Linked DNA regions of Homo sapiens: all the other regions are linked to region 2. Evidence: promoter capture Hi-C in 16 types of primary human blood cells and fetal thymus (Javierre and others, 2016). All regions are on one chromosome and are shown on one strand. Each heading gives the region's core, a stretch centred on a gene start or on the middle of the fragment in contact. The rest is flanking DNA. Distances are from core to core; before and after follow the strand shown.

Evidence for each region. The method cuts DNA at HindIII sites, captures the fragments that hold promoters and counts their contacts. A CHiCAGO score of 5 or more calls a contact.
Region 1: a fragment that was not itself captured here is called in contact with the fragment with the promoter of OIT3 in region 2 in 2 of 17 cell types (naive CD4 T cells and neutrophils); the score reaches 6.0 in naive CD4 T cells.
Region 3: a fragment that was not itself captured here is called in contact with the fragment with the promoter of OIT3 in region 2 in 1 of 17 cell types (erythroblasts); the score reaches 5.1 in erythroblasts.
Region 4: a fragment that was not itself captured here is called in contact with the fragment with the promoter of OIT3 in region 2 in 3 of 17 cell types (activated CD4 T cells, erythroblasts and endothelial precursors); the score reaches 6.0 in activated CD4 T cells.
Region 5: a contact is called between a fragment that was not itself captured here and the fragment with the promoter of OIT3 in region 2, in 1 of 17 cell types (endothelial precursors). The highest score is 5.2, in endothelial precursors.

What each region holds. Positions count from the first base shown.
Region 1 is chr10:72,404,259-72,409,216 of GRCh38, reverse strand. MICU1 (mitochondrial calcium uptake 1) reads left to right here. Exons shown (of 12, transcript NM_001195518.2): 10 at 1,180-1,288. Among named protein-coding and RNA genes, the nearest start is that of DNAJB12, 52 kb to the right of the region's middle. The HindIII fragment of the contact is 3,915 bases long and covers 943-4,857 here.
Region 2 is chr10:72,891,646-72,896,278 of GRCh38, reverse strand. It overlaps OIT3 (oncoprotein induced transcript 3), which reads right to left and starts at 2,540. Exons shown (of 9, transcript NM_152635.3): 1 at 2,420-2,540. The coding sequence starts at 2,480. The HindIII fragment of the contact is 8,602 bases long and covers 1-3,423 here.
Region 3 is chr10:72,428,533-72,433,207 of GRCh38, reverse strand. The region is part of intron 8 of MICU1 (mitochondrial calcium uptake 1); the gene reads left to right. Among named protein-coding and RNA genes, the nearest start is that of DNAJB12, 76 kb to the right of the region's middle. The HindIII fragment of the contact is 854 bases long and covers 2,323-3,176 here.
Region 4 is chr10:72,478,115-72,482,466 of GRCh38, reverse strand. All of the region lies in intron 6 of MICU1 (mitochondrial calcium uptake 1), which reads left to right. Among named protein-coding and RNA genes, the nearest start is that of DNAJB12, 130 kb to the right of the region's middle. The HindIII fragment of the contact is 2,903 bases long and covers 1,263-4,165 here.
Region 5 is chr10:72,446,244-72,450,607 of GRCh38, reverse strand. All of the region lies in intron 8 of MICU1 (mitochondrial calcium uptake 1), which reads left to right. Among named protein-coding and RNA genes, the nearest start is that of DNAJB12, 94 kb to the right of the region's middle. The HindIII fragment of the contact is 265 bases long and covers 1,688-1,952 here.

The sequences.
Region 1 (4,958 bases), core at 1,651-4,150, 490 kb after region 2:
CTGCAGCTCTTTAAGGACCTGATGCTTCATTAAAAGGCATTAACATCAGTGTCTGGGATATCTAGGACATTTCCCAGTGTTTTCCCTTCTTAGAAACTGCATTTATTTCCATCACAGCATGATGTGTGGGAAGCGGGGGAAAGGCAAATAGGACAAATCTTCCTCCCTATAAAGGAATTCCCAGTAGCCCCTATTTCTATAACTACTTTTTCTCGATGCATCATAGAAAGTGGAATTAGAGATCAGCAAATCTTTAAACCGTTTTTGAAAAAAAAATCTTCATTCACAGAATTTCATTAGATTAAAGTTAAGTGGCAAATTACTTTGTGGGTAGCTTTTAAATTGAGATAATGAACGGCTTCCCCATTACTTGGGTTTTGCTAAATACCGACACCGTTCCCCTGTATATCACTGACTTTGGTGATTCTTCAATTCGCTTAAGCCTCAAAAAGCTCAGCTGGCCTGTGAGCAGACTATTAAACTGGAAGTCCTGACTCTGATTTTACTTCTTAAGATGTATAACAAGTCAAGTAGCTATAGCCCAATTAGGAAGTGTCATCATTGATAGTGTGTCTAATTGGAGAGCACAGTTAGAAATATTTTCATTAGGCCAGGTGTAGTGGCTCAGACCTGTAATCCCAGCACGTTGGGAGGCTGAGGCAGGTGAATCACTTGAGGTCAGGAGTTCAAGGCCAGTCTGGCCAACATGATGAAACCCTGTTTCTACTAAAAATACAAAAATTAACCAGGCGTGATGGTGTGCACCTGTAATCCTAGCTACTCAGGAGGCTGAGGCAGGAGAATTGCTTGAACGTAGGAGGCGGAGGTTGCAGTCAGCTGAGATCATGCCATTACGCTCCAGCTTGGGTGACAGAGTGAAACTCCATCTCAAAAAAAAAGAAGAAATATTTTCATTAAGATATTCAGCCATCACTGTAAGCTTTCTCAGATTTTACGTGTGAGAGGGAAGCAACTAGCCAGTTTGCCTTTCTCAGGGTAGAATTCAAGAGTTTTGTTCCCCTGCTGTTTATGAATTTGATATTCCTTGACTAATGTATTCAGTTTCTGTTCTAGACATGAGCATGAATTTCTGATTTGCAGATGTGAATCACTGCCTATGCATATCGTGCTGCTTTTTGTTACAGGTCCTGCCTTACCTTGCTGTCTCTCCTCTTGCAGGGTCTGACATTTCAGGAGGTGGAGAACTTCTTTACTTTCCTAAAGAACATTAATGATGTGGACACTGCATTGAGTTTTTACCATATGGCTGGAGCATCTCTTGATAAAGGTAATGAAACTCAAAAAGTGTTTTTTTGAAGGTATGAACATTGGATCTGTAATCTCTTAGGTGACTGCCCCTCCTGAACAGTAAAAGATAAGTTTTTCTTGGCATCCTTGAAATGGTGTTTTGATTTGTTGACATTGTATGAGCCTTGCATTTCACCCTGAGATGCCAAGTTCAGTGAATATATTTTCTTGTGCTAAGGCCGTAGTCTGGGCAGGTGCCTATCTTTAAATGACTAACCTTGAAAATAAGCATCTAAGCTGAGGCACAGGGCATGAAGCTGCAGAACTTCCCCTATCTGAGCCAGAGTCATTATATATACAATGTGAAGCTAAAGTCACTATACAACTTAAGTTGCGTCTTTGATGAGAAGGAATGCTTTAGTTTATTTCTTATATTAAGACTTTTTTTAAGACAATATGACTCTGAGAATAACACCCCGCTCCTTTGGCTTACTTCATAGAAATTCAGTTACAGTTTGTACAAGCAACGTGAGAGCACGGAGGAATTGAAAGCACAATTTTTCCCTCAACATTTCATTATGAAAATTTTTAAACATTCAGAACAGTTGAAATAATTATTTAAATAACATCCACATATTCAGCTCAACTGACATTTTGCTATATTTGCTTGATCGTATGACTATGCATATTTTCACCTCTCTAAGTAATCATTGATCTTATTTGACATGTTCAAAGTAAGTTGCAGACGTAAGTATACTTCACTCCCAATTAGTTCAGTATGAATATTAACTAAAGTTCAAGATTCATTTAAAGTTCTTTCAGTCCCCTTCACAGTTTTTGCCCCCACTCACCAAGAGGCAACCTTTGTACTGTATATTTTTCCACCATAGATTAATTTTGCTTTTTCTAGAACTTCATACATTGGAATTATATAAATGTACACTCGTCTAAGGTTTCACTCAATGTTTTTGAGATCCATCTCCGTTGTGTGTCAGTAGTTTAATCCTTTTTTATGATGAGTAGTAACCCATTGTATGAATATAGTCAGGCATGGTGGTTCATGCCTGTAATCCGAACACTTTGGGAGGCTGAGGCAGGTAGATCACCTGAGGTCAGGAGTTTGAGACCAGCCTGGTCAACATGGCGAAACTCCATCTCTACTAAAATTGCAAAAATTAGCCAGGCGTGGTGGTGTATGCCTGTAGTCCCAGCTACTCGGAAGGCTGAGGCAGGAGAATTGCTTGAATCTGGGAGGCAGAGGTTGCAGTGAGCCAAGATTGTGCAGGATTGCTTGAGCCCAGGAGTTTGAGACCAGCCTGGGCAACATAGTGAGACCCCATCTCTCTCTTTTTTTTTTTTTAATAAGGAGTATATGAACATATATGAAAGTCCTGAAATGTCAGCTATTGTAAATGCTGCCAACTTGGTCTTCTTTTTCAAGATTACTTTGGATATTCTAGGTCATTTGTATTTCCATATAAATTTTAGAATCAGCTTGTCACTTTCTATGCCAAAAGAAGTGGAATTGTGATTACAGTAACATTGAGTATGTAGATCAATTTGGGAAGAATCAACACCTTAGTGTAATATAGCATCTTATAATTCACGAGCATAATATATCTCCCCATTTTTTAAGGTCTCATTTTCTCTCAGCAGTGGTCTTATAGTTTTATTAATACAGGTCTTGCACATATATTTTTAAAATTTGTGCTTAAGTATTTTATGGTTTTCGATCCCATTATAAATGGAATTGGTTTTATTTTATTTTCTAATTGTTTGCTGCTAATATTAAAATATAACTGATTTTTATATATTAACTTTATATTCTGTAATTTTGCTAAATTCACTTATTCTTCTAGTTGTTTTGTAGATTCCTCAGGTTTTTCTATGTAAATAATCCTATCATCTTCAAACAGAGATAGTTTCATCTCCTTTTTTAAAAAAAAATTTATGGCTTTTTTTTTCTTGCTTTATTGCACTTGCTTACCCCACCAATACAATATTGAATAGAAGTGGTGAGAGTGGACATCCTTGGCTTCTTTCTGAACTTTAGAGAAAAGTATTCAATATTGTACCATTAAATTGGATATTAGATTAGATTTTTCATAGTTGCTCGTTGTCAGATTAAGAAAATTATTTTCTGTTATTTGAAAAGGGTTTTTGTCATCAATGGCTCCTGTATTTTGTCAAATTTTTTTCTATATATATTGAAATGGTCATATGGCTTTTCTGCTTTATTCTTTTAATATGGTAGATGACATTGACTATTCCTTATCCTGAAATAAACCTAATTTGTAATGATGTATTAGCTTTTTTAATGTATTACTAGACTTGATTTCCTAACATTTTGTTAAATATTGACAGATATTGGTCTGTAATTTTTTTTTTTTTTGTAATGTCTTTTCGGGTTTTATGTCAGAGTATTTTATCCTCATAAAATGAGTTAGGGACTGGGCACAGTGGCTCACACCTGTTATCCCAGCACTTTGGGAGGCCGAGGCAGGTGGATCACCTGAGGTCAGGAGTTCAAGACCAGGCTGGCCAACATGGTGAAACTCTGTCTCTACTAGAAATACAAAAAATTAGCTGGGCATGGTGGTAGGTGTCTGTAATCCCAGCTACTCAGGAGGCTGAGGCAGGAGAATCACTGGAACCTGGGAGGTGGAGGTTGCAGTGAGCCGAGATTGCGCCATTGCACTCCATTCTGGGCGACAAGAGCGAAACTCTGTCTCTAAATTAATTAATTAATTAAATTAAATAGGCCAGGCATGGTGGCTCATGCCTGTAATCCTAACACTTTAGGAGGCTGAGACGGGCAGATCACCTGAGATCAGGAGTTCAAGACCAGCCTCGCCAACATGGTGAAACCCCATCTGTAACTAAAAATAACAAAAAGTAGCCGGGCTTGGTGGCACATGCCTGTAGTCCCAGCTACTTGGGAGGCTGAGGCAGGAGAATCACTTGAACCCGGGAGATGGATGTTGCAGTGAGCTGAGATCACGCCACTGCACTCCAGACTGGGTAGCAGAGCAAGACTCCATCTCAAAAATAATAATTAAATAAGTAAATAAATAAAATGAGGGATTTTTCCTTCTCTGTTTTCAGAAGTTTCTGTAAGATGAGTATTGTTTCTTTCTGAGCTGTATTTGATAGAATTCATCAGTGAAACTATCTGGACTTGCCAATTTCTTTCTGAAAAGGTTTTGATAATTTAATTTTTTAAGTAAATATGTAAGGTTTGTGTTTTATATGAATTTTAGGTTATATTTTTGAATAATTTGCCCATGTCATCTATGTTATTGAATTTATTGACATGAAGTTGTTCATAATATTCCATTATTATCCCTTTGATGTCTGTAGAATCTGAAATCCCCTTTTACTCCTACTGTTGGCAAATTATGAATTCTCTTTCTTTTTTAAAAAAATATTTCTTACTCAGTCTACCTAGGGGTTTAGCAATTTTGTTAATCTTTTCAAAGAACCAATTTTTGACTTTGTTAATTTTCTCTATGGTTTGTTGCCTATTGAGTTGATTTCTGCTCATACCTTTGTTACTTATTCCTTCACTTATTTTCAGTATATATTATTTTGTTTTTCTTTTTCTAAGCTTCTTAAGATGAAACCTTACTTACCTTTTCTAAGGTAAGCTTGTGAAGCTATAAATTTCCCTATAAACACTGCTTTAGTCTGGGCGTGGTGGCTCACGCCTG
Region 2 (4,633 bases), core at 1,291-3,790:
CCTCTCCCTGGCTCTAATTTTATAAGAAATGGTTAGATACTTAACTTTTAATCGCTTCTACAGAAACTCCTAAACCTCTCTCAGTAACTATTTCCTTATTTATAAAGTTTTTCCTTCAAGTTAAATGTCATTTCTTGGGCTGTTTGCTAAAAGTTCACTTCCTCCCCTGCTGTAGGGGAGATAGGGTATGAGGAGGAAAAGTTTATCTACCATCTTCTATAACTAATTAAATAATACATATATATTTTTAAAAGTTAACCATCCAATACTTTCTGACATTTAACGTACCCATCCCACTCTACCCCCTTTTAAGGCAGCAATCCAATCTAATAATCTGGCCACTGGTCTTATATCCTGTTTTTAATCTCAGCGTGAAGCCCAGAATCTGGTATTGCGCACATTCATCCTAAAATGCTGATCTATACATCTCAGTGCGAAGGCTTCAAAAAGAACAGCTTCCTGGCCTGCCAGAAGCTCCTCAATGGTTTGCTAAGATGCCCACTTGCCAGCTGCCCCTCTGCTGTCTTCCACCAGGACCACGCAGGGCCAAGGGCAGGGAACCATGTCTGCGTCCCCACCCTTTCGCCCCAGGGTTGAGTCCTCCAACCCTCCAGGTCCTATCCGGCAGACAGCCGCCCCTGAATCACAGCCCCTTTTCGACCCTGTGCCTGAGCTTGGTCGGGAAGTGCCCCTCCTTTCCTGCTCCATCCTCTTCCATCCTCCTCCCTCATCACCCCACTTTGCTTCCCCCTTTCTCATCCCTTCTTTTCCTCTTCTCTCACTTCCCCTGTCCTCTCAGGGCAAACACCAGCTCTAGTTCCCAAAGTTCCCCCTTTATCATGCTTCTGGCATTGAGCCAAATATCATCCTTGAGGAGCTGGGGGTTGGAGGAAAAGATCTGGGAAGGGCGATGGTATATGGAAAGAATGGGGAATATAGGAGGTACTAGAGGGAGAATAGGTAAGGAGAAGGGTGGGAAGAAAGGGGAGTGGAGATTTTCGGGAGGACAACTTTCTGAGCGACCCTTGGGTTAGTTATTGGCAGCAGATAGGGGGTGATTAATGACAGGTAGCTCAAGCATATTTTTTGGAATAGTTTTGGATTTACAGCATAATTGAGATGATAGGACAAAGAGATCCCACATACCCCACACCCAGTTTCCCTTGTTATGACACGTTACCTTTAGCCATACATTTACCACACATTGGCATGGTACCTTTGTCACATTAATGACCCACTATTGATACCTGATTATTAACTCAAGTCCACACTTATTCAGATTCCCTTAGTTTCCACCCATATCTTTCTGTTCCAGGATCCCACATTACCTTTAGGTGTCAGGTCTCCTTAGGGTCTCAAATCACCATTTTTATTTTTATTTTTATTTTTTTGAGATGGAGTCTCCCTCTGTTGCCCAGGCTGGAGTGCAGTGGTTCGATCTCGGCTCACTGCAACCTCCACATCCCGAGTTCAAGTGATTCTCCCGCCTCAGCCTCCCAAGTAGCTGGAATTACAGGCATGCAACACCATGACCATCTAATTTTTTTGTGTGTATGTATTTTTAGTAGAGACGGAGTTTCACCATGTTGGCCAGGCTGGTCTTGAACTCCTGACCTCAGGTGATCCACCCGCCTTGGCCTCTCAAATGCTGGCATTACAAGTGTGAGCCACCGTGCCTGGCCACAAGCCTATTTTTAATGTGTATCCTTTCAGGTACTAGAGCAACCATGAAGAAATAAGCCAGGGTCAATTAGATACTGAGCTACTCAAAAGTGTCAAGAAGGATGGTTCTCTCCATCTCACCCCCACCCTCTGTTCCAGTTAGTACTCACATTCTACTAGAAAAAGATGCAAGAGAGAAATCTGTTAGTAACTGGAATTGAAACTTTTCTTTGCCTGACTGGCCAGTTTTGCACCAAGCCTGAGGAGGGAGACAATTTAAGATTCACTCGATCTGTGCAAAAAGTCTTATTTTCTGACATAAAGACTAATGAGTTTGGTTTATCCAGATCTGTGCCCCCCATGGCAACAGAGCTTTCAGTCCCTTGCCTTCATTAAAGAAAAATTCTATGCTCAACTTTAATTTTTTTTTTTTTGGCTCTTCAAGTTGGAACTATAAAGTGCCTAGAACACAAAGAAGATAGAATTATTTTTACACATACTCCAGGAACTCTTTAGCTAGTGAAAGCTGTGGGATATGGCAGATCCATGGAAATTTTGGAGTCCAGGCAAGAGGCTAAATGGAACATGTAACAGAAATTCTCGGGAAATCTATTTTCAAGGATTATTAGGGACTTTTCTTACAAGATTCTAGAGCTAGCATTTAAGGTACTGGAATCTAGTTCTTAATCATCTGTACATTATAGCAAATTGCCACAACAAAAAGTGCATTGTGCCAAGTTCTTGACATGAGACTCACCCACGGGTGACACGGAGGTGCCTGTGATGAAGAGGCAGGTGAGAAGCAGGAATGGAGGCATCCTTCTGGACCAACTGCCAGAAACACTGGAAAATCCTCTTAATACTGGTGTTCCTTTGTCCCCTTCTCTTTCAAGCACTTTTTTTTTTAAGGCCTCTAGGCTCTCACGAGAAAGACTTTATCAGCACTGGTAGGGGCTTTATCAGAGGAAGAGGATGAGGATGAGTGGGATAAGGTGTCCACAGCTCTGGCCTTGGCCCCAGAGAGAAGCACTGCTTTACACTGTCAACAGGGTTCCTTTATTAATAGTTTTCTTTAGGAAAAAAAAAAAAAAACACAACTCACAATCCCTCATCCTCCTATTGTTTTCTCTCAAGAATTCCCTGCAATGAAACCCCAGTATCTTATCCAGAAGGGAATTCTAAATGAGGGACATCCCTTCACGTCAAATTCTTGCTTTGTGACTTCTAGGAATTGATTTCACAATGTTGCAGCCATAGCACTGCACACTAAACGAGAATGGATGAAGCCAAATCACTGCAACTGTCTTGGTCAGATGGTTGAGGAGCTTATAATAGCACACAAAACAAAGTAGTAAGGACAGGTATGAGACAAGGACAGTATTCTCTTGAAATAAGCTCCTGAGTTTGTTTTATTACGGTCTTTGGCCTCAAAACTTCTGAAAGAAACAAGGTTTAAATTGTGTTTTTACTAATTCAAGCAGCAATACCTCATATTTTTATTGTCTTTACTCCCAAAATTAAAAAATGGTTTAATGTTATTTATTTCACTAATTCTCACATTAAGATGGGGTAGGAGCTTAAAATTAGAAACTACTCATTAAATTAACACTCTGGAAAATTAAATGTCAAAATTTCCTGAAGTTTCACTTTTAGACAAAGGAGAGAAAATGTGCTTCTTAGCACAATTTTTTTTTTCAGACGGAGTCTTACTCTGTCGCTCAGGCTGGAGTGCAGTGGTGTGATCTCGGCTCATTGCAAGCTTCGCCTCCCGGGTTCACGCCATTCTCCTGCCTCAGCCTCCCAAGTAACTGGGACTATAGGCGCCCACCACCACGCCCAGCTAATTTTTTTGTATTTTTAGTAGAGACAGGGTTTCACTGTGTTAGCCAGGATGGTCTCGATCTCCTGACCTCGTGATCCGCCTGCCTTGGCCTCCCAAAGTGCTGGGATTACAGGTGTGAGCCACCGAGCTCGGGCAATCACTGGTTTTTGACAATGACAAAAGTACACATGGTCTCCAGAAGCACAGGGTTTATGGTCAAGCAAGGGGTTTCCATTGATCTAAAATTGTAGTTAGCTACTTCATTACTAACATCAGTGGGACACAGGCAATTTGACCATTAACTTATTAAGTTGTGGTTTGATGGCAGCAATGGATGACTCTGCTGTCTCATTGCAGGATAGTGTTGCTAAGTATCAGTGCTTTAAACAGAAAAAACAATCCCCCACAACTTCCTGCGCCTAGGAAGCCATCTGAGGGCTTCATATGTGTTGCAGAGAAACAGAGGACGTGTGCATGAGATAAACCCAGACTTGTTGCCAGGATTGATTGCTGGAGTCAAGGACTTTCACCAGATAGCCTTTGGTTCTGTAAACAAGAATTCCCAGGATGGTAAGATGTTTTTTCCCCCTTATTTCTATTTTTTCCTTTTTAGTTGACCTGCTCTTTCATTTTTTACTTTTTATGATGAAAAATTTCAAATATATATACAAAAGTATAAAGAACAATAATGAACACTCAGCTATAATAATTACTAACATTCTATCAATTTCATTTACATACCAGTATGCATTTCTAACACATTGTATTTTTTTACATAATCATGATGCTTTTATTACAACTATGAAAATTAGTAATAATTCCTTAACTCATATCCAATCCATATTTAAATTGCTCCAATAGTTCCAAATATTCCTTTTATTGCTGGGTTGAGTCAGGATCCAAACAAGATTTATATATTGCATTTTGATTGTCACTTAAATTTATTTTTATCAGCTGGGTGCAGTGGCTCACACCTGTAATCCCAGCACTTTGGGAGGCCAAGGTGGGTGGATCACCTGAGGTCAGGAGTTCGAGACCAGCCCGGCCAACATGGTGAAACCCCATCTCTATTAAAAATGCAAAACTAGCCAAGTGTGATGGTGCACGTCTGTAATCCCAGCTTCTTGGGAGGCTGAGACAGGAAAATCA
Region 3 (4,675 bases), core at 1,500-3,999, 460 kb after region 2:
AACACATTGGGAAGCCAAGGCAGGAGGATGACCTGAGGTCAGGAGTTCAAGACCAGCCTGGCCAACATGGTGAACCCTCATCTCTACTAAAAAATACAAAACATTAGCTGGGCATGGTGGTGCAGACCTGTAATCCCAGCTACTCGGGAGGCTGAGGCAGGAGAATCACTTGAACCTGGGAGGCGGAGGTTGCAGTGAGCCGAGATCGTGTCACTGCACTCCAGCCCAGGTGAGACTCCGTCTCAAAAAAAACATAAAGGAAGAAGAAGATCCACGCATTTGCCTACAATAAAGATTTTAAATTTCCACACATAAAACAGACCTAAACAAAATTAACAGATGGGCAAACTGAGTGATGTGGTTTGGATATTCGTCCCCTACAAATCTCATGTTGAAATGTGACCCCCGCAATGTTGGAGGCTGTGCCTAGTGGAGGTGTTTGGGTCGTGGGAGTGGATCCCTCATGAATGGCCTGGTGCCGTCCCCATAGTAATGAATGAGTTCTTGCTCTCGTTCACATGAGAGCTGGTTTTTTAAAACAGCCTGGAACCTTCCCCCTCTCTTTTCCTCTTTACTCTTGCCATGTAATATGCCTGCTCCCACTTCAACTTCCACCATGTCTGTTAGCTCCCTGAAGCCTTCACCAGAAGCAGAGGCTGGCACCATCCTTCCCCTATAGCCTGCAGAACCAAAATAAACCTCTTTTCTTTATGAATTACCCAGCTTCAGGTATTCCTTTATAGCAACACAAATGGACTAATACACTGGGCAAAAAAATTGGCAGGCAGGGTGGCTCATGCCTGTAATCCCAGCACACTGGAAGGCCAAAGTGGGAGGATCACTTGAGGCCAGGAGTTTGAGACCATCCTGGGCAACAGAGGAAAACCCCGTCTCTACAAAAAGAAAATTTGGTTTTTATATTTATTTGTATTAAATTTTTTAGAAACATAGCTGGGCATGGTGGCACACGCCTGTAGTCCTAGCTACTCAGGGGGCTGAGGTGGGAGGATTGCTTGAGCCCAGGAAGTTGAGGCTGCATTAAGTGTTGATCACACCACTGTGCTGCAGCCTGGGTGACAGAGTGAGACCCTGCCTCAAATTAAAAAAAAAAAAAAAAAAAGGCAATACATTAACAAAAAGCAAATATTTTTAATCTTAAGCTAATGAGACAAGTATCAGCACTGCTATTTTTAAAAATAGACAACATAAAAAATTCACAGAGGAAGAAATATAAATGACCACTACATATGTTAGAAAAATGGTCAACCTAGTAATCAAAGAAATACTAATTAAAATGAGTTGTCACTTTTCCTCTAGCAAAGATTTTTTATTATGTTTGATTTTGTTAAGGATACTAAGAAATGCATATTCTCATATATACTAGTGGGATTGCAAATTGATACATTTTTCTGGAAATTAATTTGGCAGACTACATTGGGAGCATTAAATAGTTTATCTCTACCATTTTTAGACCGAAGAGAGTGGCAAAAAATAAAAACTGACAATACCAAGTGCTGGTGGTGATGCAAAGCAGTGGGCACTCTTATACATAGCTGATAAAAAGTGTTGGTGTGATTATTTTGCAGAATGATTGGGCATTATCTTGAAAGGCCGGCAGTTCCACTTCCAGATATATACCCTAGTCTCAGAACTCTTGTTTTTCTTTCATCAGCACAGTTATCTAAGAATGTTCATAACAGCATTGTTCCTAATAGCAAAAAACTGACAATAATTGAGATGTCCATTTAGAGGAAAGCTGATACGTAAATAGTGGTAGAAGCTGGGCACGATGGCTTACACCTGTTATCCCAGCATTTTGTGAGGCCAAGGTGGGAGGATCACTTGAGGCCAGGAGCTCGAGACCAGCCTGGGCAAGATGGCGAAACCCTGTCTCTACCAAAAATGCAAAAATTAGCTGGCGTGGTAGTGCTCGCCTGCAATCCCTGCTACTCAGGAGGCTGAGGCATGAGAATCACTTGAACCTGGGAGGCAGAGGTTGCAGCGAGCCAAGATCACACCACTGCACTCCAGCCTGGGTGACAGACCAAGACCCTATCTCAGAAAATAGATAGATAGATAGATAGATAGATAGATAGATAGATAGATAGATAGACAGACAGATAAAGGTATATTCAAAGCAGTAGAAATCTGTAACAGTAAAAATGAAAGAAGCACAGTTAAATGTTGTAACATGTAGGAATCCTTGAAATATAATGAGGATTAAAAAAAACAAATTGCAAAAGAATATATCCACTGTGATACCATTTTATAAAGTTAGGAAGCAAGTAAAAGTAAACAATATATTGTTTAGGAATACAAGCTTTTGTTTTAAACTATTGAAAATAATAGGCCAGGTGCAGTGGCTCACGCCTGTAATCCCAGCACTTTGGGAGGCTGAGGCTGGCGGATCACCTGAGGTCAGGAGTTCATGACCAGCCTGCCAATGGAGTGAAACCACGTCTCCACTAAAAATACAAAAATTAGCCAGGCGTGGTGGCGCATGCCTGTAGTCCCAGCTACTCAGGAGGCTGAGGCAGGAGAATTGCTTGAACCTGGAAGGTGGAGGTTGCAGTGAGCCAAGATCACGCCATTGCACTCCAGCCTGGGCAACAGAGCGAGACCCTATCTAAAAAATAATAATATTAATAATGTACTAGAAAAGGGAGGCAGGGCATGGGCTTCAAATGGAGTGCCGATGCTTCCTTTCTCAGGGTAAGTGGGAGGCTCGTGGTGTTTGTTTTATTATGCTTCATAACTTGTCTGTTATATGTATTATTATGTATATGTCAAATATTTCACAATAAAATTTTAAAGATCCCATAATTTATATTTCAGAATTTTGTTTCTAGGGATCAATTCCTAAAATAATGATGAAAAATTAAGTTCAGCAAAAGTTTATCAGAGTGGTACTTACCATAGACAAAAAATGAAACAGCCTAGATGTCCAATACCATTTTTTTAAATCTTGCCTTTTTCAAGAAGGGATTTCAGAAATTCATAAAAAGTACAGGCAGTGAGATAAAAGTAAAAACTTGCTGAAAATTAAAGTTAAAAGAAAGAAGAAAGTAAAAGAAAGCCTAACTTTCTTTTAAGAAAAGTTAAGTAAGGTTAGTATGAAAAGTGTAAGTCATAATGTCTCCTATTCTAGAAGAGGCCCACAAACTTGACTATAAGCTTTCCAGTAACCAGGATAAAAAGGCAAACATGATTCACGTTGACTTTAAAATAAGAACATATCAACTGTTCTGATACTGAGACCAGAGAGAAATTTCTCTCCACATTAACTGTGTGGGCAAGTTATTTCACTTTTCTCTGTTTTTGAAATAGAATAATACTATTACCTATTATATAGCATTGCGAGAATTAACAAAGGTTAGTTCCTAGGATGGCACCTGGCAAGTATAAGCACTCAGATATGTTACTGATTAGCCAAAATGAATGGCATTCTCAAGACTATCCTTATAGAAATCAGTATCATGGAGGTAGATATTAAGAGATAAACGTAGAGATATTCCTTGCCTTAGATAGGAAACCCTCCCAACAATAGGACAGAAGTGTTGTGAATTTTCTGGTGTTTTGTCTGTGTTCATTCAATACATATTTATTGAGCTCTTTCTTTATGCCAGGTTTTCTGTTTTATAATTATGGCCAGGGTACAGGTTATTAAGTTGGTGTTCTGCTTCAAGAAACTCTAAGTAGTTTAATCTTAAAGTCATTCTAATGTGTTGAATAATAAATAAAATTAATTGCTACATTTATTGAATTTTTTTTCTTTTTTTTTTTTTTTTGAGGCAGGATCTCGCTCTGTCACCCAGGCTGGAGTGCAGTGGCACGATCTTGGCTCACTGCAACCTCCACCTCCCAGGTTCAACTGATTCCCTTGCCTCAGCCTCCCAAGTAGCTGGGATTACAGGTGCACACCACCAGACCCGGCTAATTTTTATATTTTCAGTAGAGACAGGGTTTTACCATGTTGACCAGGCTGGTCTCAAACTCCTGACCTCAAGTGATCCTCCCACCTTGGCCTCCCAAAATGCTGGGATTACAGGTGTGACCCACCACACCCAGCCCATTTATTGAATGTTAACTGGGCCTCAAACTCTGTACTAATTTCTTTACATATATTATCCCATTTAATCTTTACAACAACACTTTGAGGTCACGAATATTATCTCTATTTTTTGGTAAGAAGATTTGAACCCTCGGAACGGGTAAGCCACTTCCTTGAAGTCACAGCCAGCAAGTATGGGTTCAGGCCAGAATTTGGATCCAGGCCTTCCTGATTGTAAAGTCCATATTCTTAGTCACTTCAGTATATTACCTTCTGTGGAATGAAAACAAAACATATCAAACCTTGAAACCTTTTGTTCCAAATCTAAAATATTTTTCCCTGACACCCTCAGTCAAATATTTCCTGATTGTTATTATCTTGTAATAAATTCATGCATTAATCTTATTATCTTCGTGGTTTTGGCTGTCAGGCTGGAGGGTTAACCTTTCCCTGGTCTGACTGTTGTGATTGGTACTCATCATTTAGTCAGTTGTTTTGATCACCAACCTGAAATTTTTTCTTAAAAACCATTTTTAAATGGAAGGAGGCCAGGTACAGTGTCTCACGCCTGTAATCCCAGCACTTGAGGCCGAGGCGGGTGGATCACCTGATGTCAGGAGTTCG
Region 4 (4,352 bases), core at 1,465-3,964, 410 kb after region 2:
GAACATTCTGGAAGTTTTTTTCAAAACTCAGACTTCTCTGACATTGCATATCAATTACCTCATTTATCCTCTAGCATTCTAAAACAGGAATGGGACAGGTAAGAATTCTTTGATAGGAGAATCAAACCAATAGAAAATAAGAAACTTGTTTAGAATCTAACCTATTCATTTTTTCATCATTCCATCAGTGCTACCAAAAAATAATGTAAGGCAGCAAATGACTCATTAGGTTATTGGAAAAGCCAGAATTAGAACTTTAGTTCAACCATTCCTACCCGTACCATTCCTTATGCATTTTCTATTAAAGAACAGTGAGAGAAATAGCCATGAAATCAACCAGTGAAAGTCTCAGGACAGCTAGTGTTTATCTGATTATGTGACTCAATACACATAGAAAAAGATGGTTTTTTCTCTTTACTAAAACAAAACAGAAAAAATGTGCTTCAGGAAACAGTGTAGAGTTGTCATTATTATTATCATGATTGTCAATGGTGGAATGATATTATAGAAACAGACTTGTAACCAGAACAGACCTAATGTAGCTCTGTATCCTAGTAGCAAAGATTATTAAGGAAATCTAAGTGAAAGGTGTATAGTAACAAACTTTGTGTAGGGTCTTATTGTTCTAATCAGTTTCAACACTTGCTGAGACCATTTTGGAAATCGTGTAGAAAGTAAATTATGCTGTTTTAGCAGGGGGGAAAGCCTCACTCTTCACTCTAAGTAGCCTAGCATTCAAAAGAATTCCTTTTTCAGGGTGGGCGCTGTGGCTCACGCCTGTAATCCCGACACTTTGGGAGGCCAAGGCGGGTGCATCACTTGAGGCCAGGAGTTCTAGAACAGCCTGGCCAATATGGTGAAACCCCGTCTCTACTAAAAATACAAAAATTAGCCGGGGGTGGTGGTGTGCTCCTGTAATCCCAGCTACTTGGGAGACTGAGGCACGAGAATCACTTAAACCTGGGAGGCAAAGGCTGCAGTGAGCCAAGATCATGCCACTGCACTCCAGCCTGGGCAATAGAGCAAGATTCAGTCTCAAAAAAACAAAAAACAAAAAACAAAACAAAAACCAAAATTCCTCTTTCAGAACCTTTCTATGGAAACAGATTATGAGTTAGAATAAACACAGGATGCCATAAGCTTTCCAAAACAACTAGATTTAAAAATTGCCCTGAAGGCTACATTTGAGAGGAGACAAATAAGTTTACAAGAGAATCGCTTGACATCATATACTGTGTAGCATGTTTCACTTAAAGCAAGCTTGTTTTTGGCTTGTTTGTCCCATATGCTTTGACATGATCAGCCAATGAAATTGAATAGGCTGAGAGCTCTTTCTAGAAAGACTGGCCCTGAGAGGCTGGTGAGGCCCAAGTGAGCATGTCCAAGGCTGCAGCCCAGCTTGCCTCAGCAGTGGCCCAAGCACAGGTTCATGGCCTCTGTGGTGTCAGCGCATGTACTTTAACAAGCACTCTCAGTTGCTCCACATAAAGCCAGTACTTTGAAAGGAACTATACCAGGATAAAAAGACAGAGAAACCTCAAGCATTACAGGGTATACTTTGTTTGGTAAAGTGTATTTAACCTTAGTTGTAGGAGGTGATATTAACCATAATATGCTAGAATAACTCATTCAGTCATTTAAATGATCTGGGCACATGCCTTCATGGAACTCACAAGACAGTAAGACTACAAGATCCTGATAAAGCTGAAGTTGTAAGCAGTCTGTGTCACCTCTGTAATTGTGGAGAGAGGGAATGGGGATACTGCTTTAATTCATGTATGGGAGCATATTGACTTCGCTCTTATCAAATGTTTTCCTATTTCTATTAATTTGGGCTGTATTCCTCTGGATATTGTGATGCCGCTTCCTCTGTCACTGCCTCCTTTCCTTTTCGTTGCACTTTAAACATTGGCTTCCACCTGCAATCTACCCTTTTCTTGACCTTCTCCTCACTCCTCAGTTTTGCATGGGCAACTTCCTTTCAGGTTCTTTGCAGCTAGCCACTTGTATGCCCATAAATCCCAGCTTAAACCTCTCTCACTGAGCTTTAGACCCATATTTCCAACTGTCTCCTGAACATCTTCATCTGCATAAGCTGAGACCCCTTAAATTTAGCAGATCCCGTCTGAAATCATTTTATTTCTCAAACATTTTACATCTATTTGCTCTCTTTCTTCATGCCATGCAAGCTACACAGTAGTCTAAGCCAGTCATGCTGTCATTCCTTTTCACTCTCAACTCATCACAGCTAACTAATCATTAAGTTCTATAATTTCTGCCTTCTTTGGGTATCTCAAATGTGTCCCTCCTCTCCATTACCACTGCCATCACTGCAGTTTGCATTTTCAACATTTAAAAGAGCTTCTGATCTTCTTTAAAGCTGGCCTTTCTTTTCCAACTCATTCTTCACACAGTAGCTGGAGAAGTCCTTTATAATTGCTTGATTGTGTCACTCTCCTACTTAAAACCTTCAGTGGCTTCATATTTTCTGCCATTGTTACATTCTCAAGTATCTACAGGAATTAGGCAAATAACATATAGGAGTGAAGTGGGCCAAGTGTGACAAAATAAGGAAGAATAAGAGAGAACATTTCCACCTGAAGAGATTTATAATCAGAAGTTTAAAAAACATGACAAACCAGCCGGGTGCTGTGGCTCACACCTATAATCCTAGCACCTTGGGGAGCTGAGGCAGGAGGATCATTTGAGGCCAGGAGGTTTAAGACCAGCCTGGGCAATGTAGTGAGACCACATCTCCACAAAACATAGAAAAATTATCCAGGCTTGGTGGCACGCACCTGTAGTCCTAGCTACTCCAGAGGCTGAGGCAGGATTGCTTGAGCCCAGAAGTCTGAGGTTGCATTGAGCTATGACTGTGCCACTGCATTCTAGCCTAGATGACAGAACAAGACCCTGTCCCAAAAAACAAAAACACATGACAAACCTATCTGAGAGTTTAATGTTGCCTGTGGATCTTCCATTTACTACGGTCAAGCCTAAACTCCTGAGCATAACACAGGCAGTGTTTCTGTGATATTGGTTATCTCCTTGAGATGATCAACTTGGAATGTTCAGCTTTTGCAGAGACTGACATAACCACTGTGTCATGTTTTGTTGCTTAGTTTTTAGGTCAAATCGTGTCAGCATGAAGAGTGTGTGTTTATCATTTTAAGTACCTCTATGTTCACATTAGAGGCCTTGGAACATAAGGAAAGTTTGTAGGCTTTGGAGTCAGTGTTGACTTAAGTTCAATTCCCACTTCTGCCAAAAAGGAGCTGTGTGATTTTTGAGCTAGCCATTTAACTGCTTTGAGCCCCAATATCCTCCTCTGTTTAAACAATAAAGAAATGAAAGTTTTCAAGATTGAGAGTATGAAGTCAAATAATAAACACCTCCAATTATCTAGCTCAATGCCTGCCACATAGTAACTCCTCAGTAAAATGTAACATTCAGACAGGTAGCAAAAATTTGAGAAGTGACAACAAATATACAAAACTAATTCCCCCAGCTGCATCCTTCCCAGCAATTGAAGGCTGGGTCATGGTGGCTCACACCTGTAATCCCAGGACTTTGAGAGGCCAAGGTGGGAGGATCACTTGAGGTCAGGAGTTCAAGACCAGCCTAGCTGACATGTTGAAACCCTGTCTCTGGCCTAAAGGAAAGCAAACCTATTGGAAGTCAATATCAAGTGAAGCAGACAATTGGAAGCTGACACACACATGATTCACCCAGGCAACTAAAAACCAGGAGTTTCCAGCCTAGCTGCCTAACTACCTGAAAATGGAATTTGAGCCCAGAAAGTGTTTCTGTTGACAAATTCATGAGCAGGATGGGAATATGGCCTCTCTAACAATTATACATAATATACAAAGTTCATTTTACTTTTTTCTCTGCATAAAATCTTAACTTTTTTCATGTAAATGATGTTAACTGAAATTTTAATTCACTAGTATAAGGACACATAGAATATTTATTTTGGTTTATTCTCTAGAGCTGTATAAATTTGAAGCACCAAAGGAAGGAAGTAAACAACTTAGTTTTCTTTACCAGAACATTTAGTATGGGAAGGGAGGAGGGCTGTTGAGTTTATATTTTATTCCAATGCACAGAGTATATTAATGATATTATGACTGATCTAGGAACACTAAAGAAGCCTTGAAAAGCTTTCATCATTAAGGGAAAGTTTTGTCAAGCTTTGCATTTTTTCATTTTGTTATTTAAACTTCAGCTTAATTTTACCATTTAAGTATATTTAGTAATTTGTGTATGCAGCTGACATGATCGAAATAGGGGGCTGAGGCCAGACGCCGTGGCTCACACCTGTAATCCCAGCACTTTGGGAGGCCAAGGCG
Region 5 (4,364 bases), core at 571-3,070, 440 kb after region 2:
AAGATTTAAGATTAGCAGTGAGAAAGCCATGCAACCACAGGCTTTGCAAGTTGTTAGAGTTAGTTCCCCGGAATGTGTATGAAGCAGAAAAGAACCTGTTTGGCACTGATACCTTCAGTCACCTCCATTCGCACAATCACTGTCAGAAACATCATCTCATCTGACCACCTGTCTCTGTCTCCACCACCATTCTTGTCTTTTGCTTGGGCTACTTCAGTTGCCGCCTAACTACGTGATTCATCTCATCAATCACTCTTAACTAAGAGCCTTTGCACCACTATTGATTTCCCTGGAGCTCTCTTCCTTCTCCTTCACCTAGTTACCTTGTTTTTATCGCTCAGAGCTCACTTAAACCTCACTCATATCTTTTCCTGCTTCACCACCTCTCCACCCCAAATTAGATCACATTTTTGTTACACATTTCCAAAGGACTCTGTACTTTTTTTTCAAATCACTTAATTACATAGTCATTTCATTGTTTGTTAAATACCTGTCTCTCTGCAAACACTCCCTGAGAACTTTCACGAGAGTGTTGGGCCCGCCATTATTTCCTTAGTGCTTCCCAGAGACAGAACACAAACCAGATTTTCAGGAAATAGTGTTGAATTAGTAAATATCAGATGTGGACGAAAGCCTGGCAAAGTACACATACATGTTGATGCCCACTCCCTCTCCAGCTCTCTGTGGCATCTATGGTCTAGTATATTAGGCACATTCTGGGGTATCAGCCCCGCTTTCAACAATTCTGTCTTCTCCAGGATTTTGCCCACTCCACTTCCCAAACATATGTGGGAACTCCTAAAAGCCATGTTTGTAAATGTGAAGTTCGATCTAGAGATAGACCAATATACTTAAGCATGAAACATTCCTCATTAGCTATTTTAAAAATGAAAAAGTACCACAAAATTGAGAAGTATCGTTTATGTTTCTTAAGTTGCTTTTAAAAAAAAACTAAAGAAAACCTTAATTAACTTGATGACCAGAAAGAAAAAAATAAAAAAACGCTTTACTGCTGCAGGATTTAAAACATAACCTGACTTAATGGTCTGTCTGTGGTACTCTAAGAAACTTACCAGGTGCAGTGGCTCATGCCTTTAATCCCAACACTTTGGGAGGCCAAGGTGGGAGGATTGCTTCAGCCTAGGAGGTCAAGACCAGCCTGGGCAACATAGTGAGACCCTGTCTTTACCAAAAAAAAATTTTTTTTTTTGAGACAGAGTCTTGCTCTGTCACCCAGGCCGGAGTGCAGTGGTGCAATCTAAGCTCAGTGCAGCCTCTGCCTCCTGGGTTCAAGCAATTATTGTACCTCAGCCTCCTGAGTGGCTGGGATTACAGGCACCTGCCACCATGCCTTGCTAATTTTTGTATTTTTGGTAGAGACAGGGTTTCACCATGTTGGCCACACTGGTCTCAAACTCCTGACCTCATGTGATCTGCCCGCCTCAGCCTCCCAAAGTGCTGGGATTTCAGGTATGAGTCACCATGCCCAGATTAAAAAATTTTTTAAATTAGCTGGTCATGGTGGCAAATGCCTGTAGTCCCAGCTCCCTGGAGGCTGAGGCAGGAAGATCGCTTGAGCCCAGGAGGTCGAGGCTACGTGAGCCATGATAACACCACTGCACTCCAGCCTGGGTGACGGAGTGAGACCCTATCTAAAACAACCAAAACAAAACGAACAAACAAAGCTTAATTGTCTAGCAAGGGACAGCTAAACTTATAATTAACCAATAGGTTACAGCACTGTAAAAGAAATCTTGCAAATTTTCTCCCTGGCTGTTTTTTACAATTGTTATCATTAAAGGACTTCATGGTTTTCCTGTTCTTAAGGGGGAAAATATTTTCTTTTTTTTTCCTTTATGAAAGGAGAATGACAGTGATACAGTGTGGCCCATTAGATCCTTTGCCATTCACCTGCCTGTGTTTGGACTGTTCTCACTTTGTGTATTAAAGCTTCCTTAAGCTACATGTTTCTGAGCCTCAGTCTCCCAATCTTTATTGCATTTTTCCTAATGCTTGTCAGTCAACTTAATCTGAATTCTAATTTCTATATATTGTGTTCCAATCTCTAGCTCTCCTTTTCTAAAAAATGGGCACTTTCCAATGTAATGTTTAGTGTATTAAAAAATATTAACTTGGCCAGGTGCGGTGGCTCACACCTGTAATTGCAGCACTTTGGGAGGCCAAGGTGGGCGGATGACTTGAGGTCAGGAGTTCCAGAACAGCCTGGCCAACATGGTGAAACCCTGTCTCTACTAAAAATACAGAAATTAGCTGGGCATGGTGGTGGGCACCTGTAATCCCAGCTACTCAGGAGGCTGAGTCAGGAGAATCACTTGAACCAGGAGGCGGAGGTTGCAGTGAGCCTCGGCAAGAGAGCAAGACTTTGTCTCAAAAAAAAAAAAAAAAAAAAAAAATATATATATATATATATATACACACACATATACACACACACAGACACACACACACACACACACACACACACATATATATAAACTTTTTCCATGGTGCCCAATGTGAATGAGCTCATCACCTATGCAATGGCTTTCTGAATGGTGAGAATTAAAATGGATGATAAGATTAAGCCAATCAAAGAAGGGGTGGGTCATCAGAAAAAGTGAGATCAACTGGGATTTGAGCTCTGGAGACTGAAGAATAATGTGTTACTAATTTTACAGATGGTGTCCTCAAAATGTAGGTTTTTAGTGTAGGCAGAAATTTGAGAATATGCAACTTCATAATTTAGCTCAGTTCATCCAGGTAAAAGCAGATATAACCTTAACTGTTTTATCGTTCTAATATAATAGACCTCTGTTCCTCTCAGTTAAACTCTCCAGCTTTTGTGGAGCATAGCAAGACTTTTCATGATAGATTCATTGAACATGGCCATTTTCCTAACTGAGGCACAATTGATTTTTTCATATCTTTTTTTTTAACTTCTGCCTGTACACCAATGATTTTTTCGTATATTGCATCTGTGAAATTGTTCCTATAGAAAACTTCAAGTAGTAACTATTTTTAACAGCATTGCCTCCTGGTTATAAACTAGCAGTTTAACATATAATTGCTTACCTAGGTTTTCTTTTTCTTCTTTTTATTAGGAATATATATGTATACTTACAGTCAGTCTGTAATTATGGGCTTGTTAAGTCATTCATAGAAACAGTAATATACAATTTTGTCATGACTATAATCATGCCAATAATATATATCTGTATAGAGTAATTTTAAAACCCTCTAGCCTATATTATGATCTTGGTGTTGTCCTATTATCTCTTCAAATCCCAGGTCCCTCTAGGCAGTAGCTATTATGCCTACTTCAAAGGTTATTATGAGACTCAAATGAGAGAGTGAATCGGAAGCATTTTGTACATTATTATCCCTCAACCTATTTGTGCCCCATACATAGTAACTTCAGGCCTTATAGTTTGTCCCTACTGCTCCTGTTTCCGTAAACCTTTGCAGAAATCTGGTTTTTACGGGCAAAAAGAGGTTATAATTCAACTTTCCATGCTCTAAGCATAGTTCCAGTCTTGCCCATCTCTTTTATTTCTCTTCTTATAAACATGCAAAATGTTCATGTGAAGAGTAGAAAGGAGAGGATTAAGAGAATTACTTACTTACAGTTTTTCTTTCCTTTCTCAATCTTATTTTTTGTTGTCTTTGTAGAAGACAGAAAGTTTATTTCTCTTTAAATAGAGCTAAAGTTAACAGAAGCAAGTGTGACCACAAACTTATTACTTGCAGCTTTTGTTCATTGTTCTTACTATCATTATTAATAGCAGCCAACATTTACTGAGCTCTTAGTATGTGCCAGGCATCCTACTGCCATATTTCATTGAATCTAAAAGAAACATTGGTTTGAGACACTATTATTTTATTAATCACTAAGAAAGAAAAAAATGCTGTTGTGCAAACCATGACAAAAATGCTCTACACTAAAAATATTTAGTTAATATCTATTAAAATACTCCATTAGGGCTGGGCCTGGTGGTTCACATCTGTAATCTCACCACTTTGGGAGGCTGAGGCGGGTGGATCACTTGAGGTCAGGAGTTCGAGAGCAGCCTAGCCCAAAAGGTGAAACCCTGTCTCTACTAAAAACAAAAATTAGCCAGGCATGGTAGCGGACACCTGTAATCCCAGCTACTAAGGAGGCTGAGGCAGGAAAATCACTGGAACCCGAGAGGTGGAGGTTGGAGTGAGCCGAGATCACACCACTGTGCTCCAGCCTGCTGGGCGACAGAGTGAGTGACACTCCATCTCAAAAAAACGAAACAAAAATACTCCATTAGGCTTAGATTTTTATTTTATGACATTCTTGTACATACATATAAAGAAAATAAATAAATTGGTCTAAAATT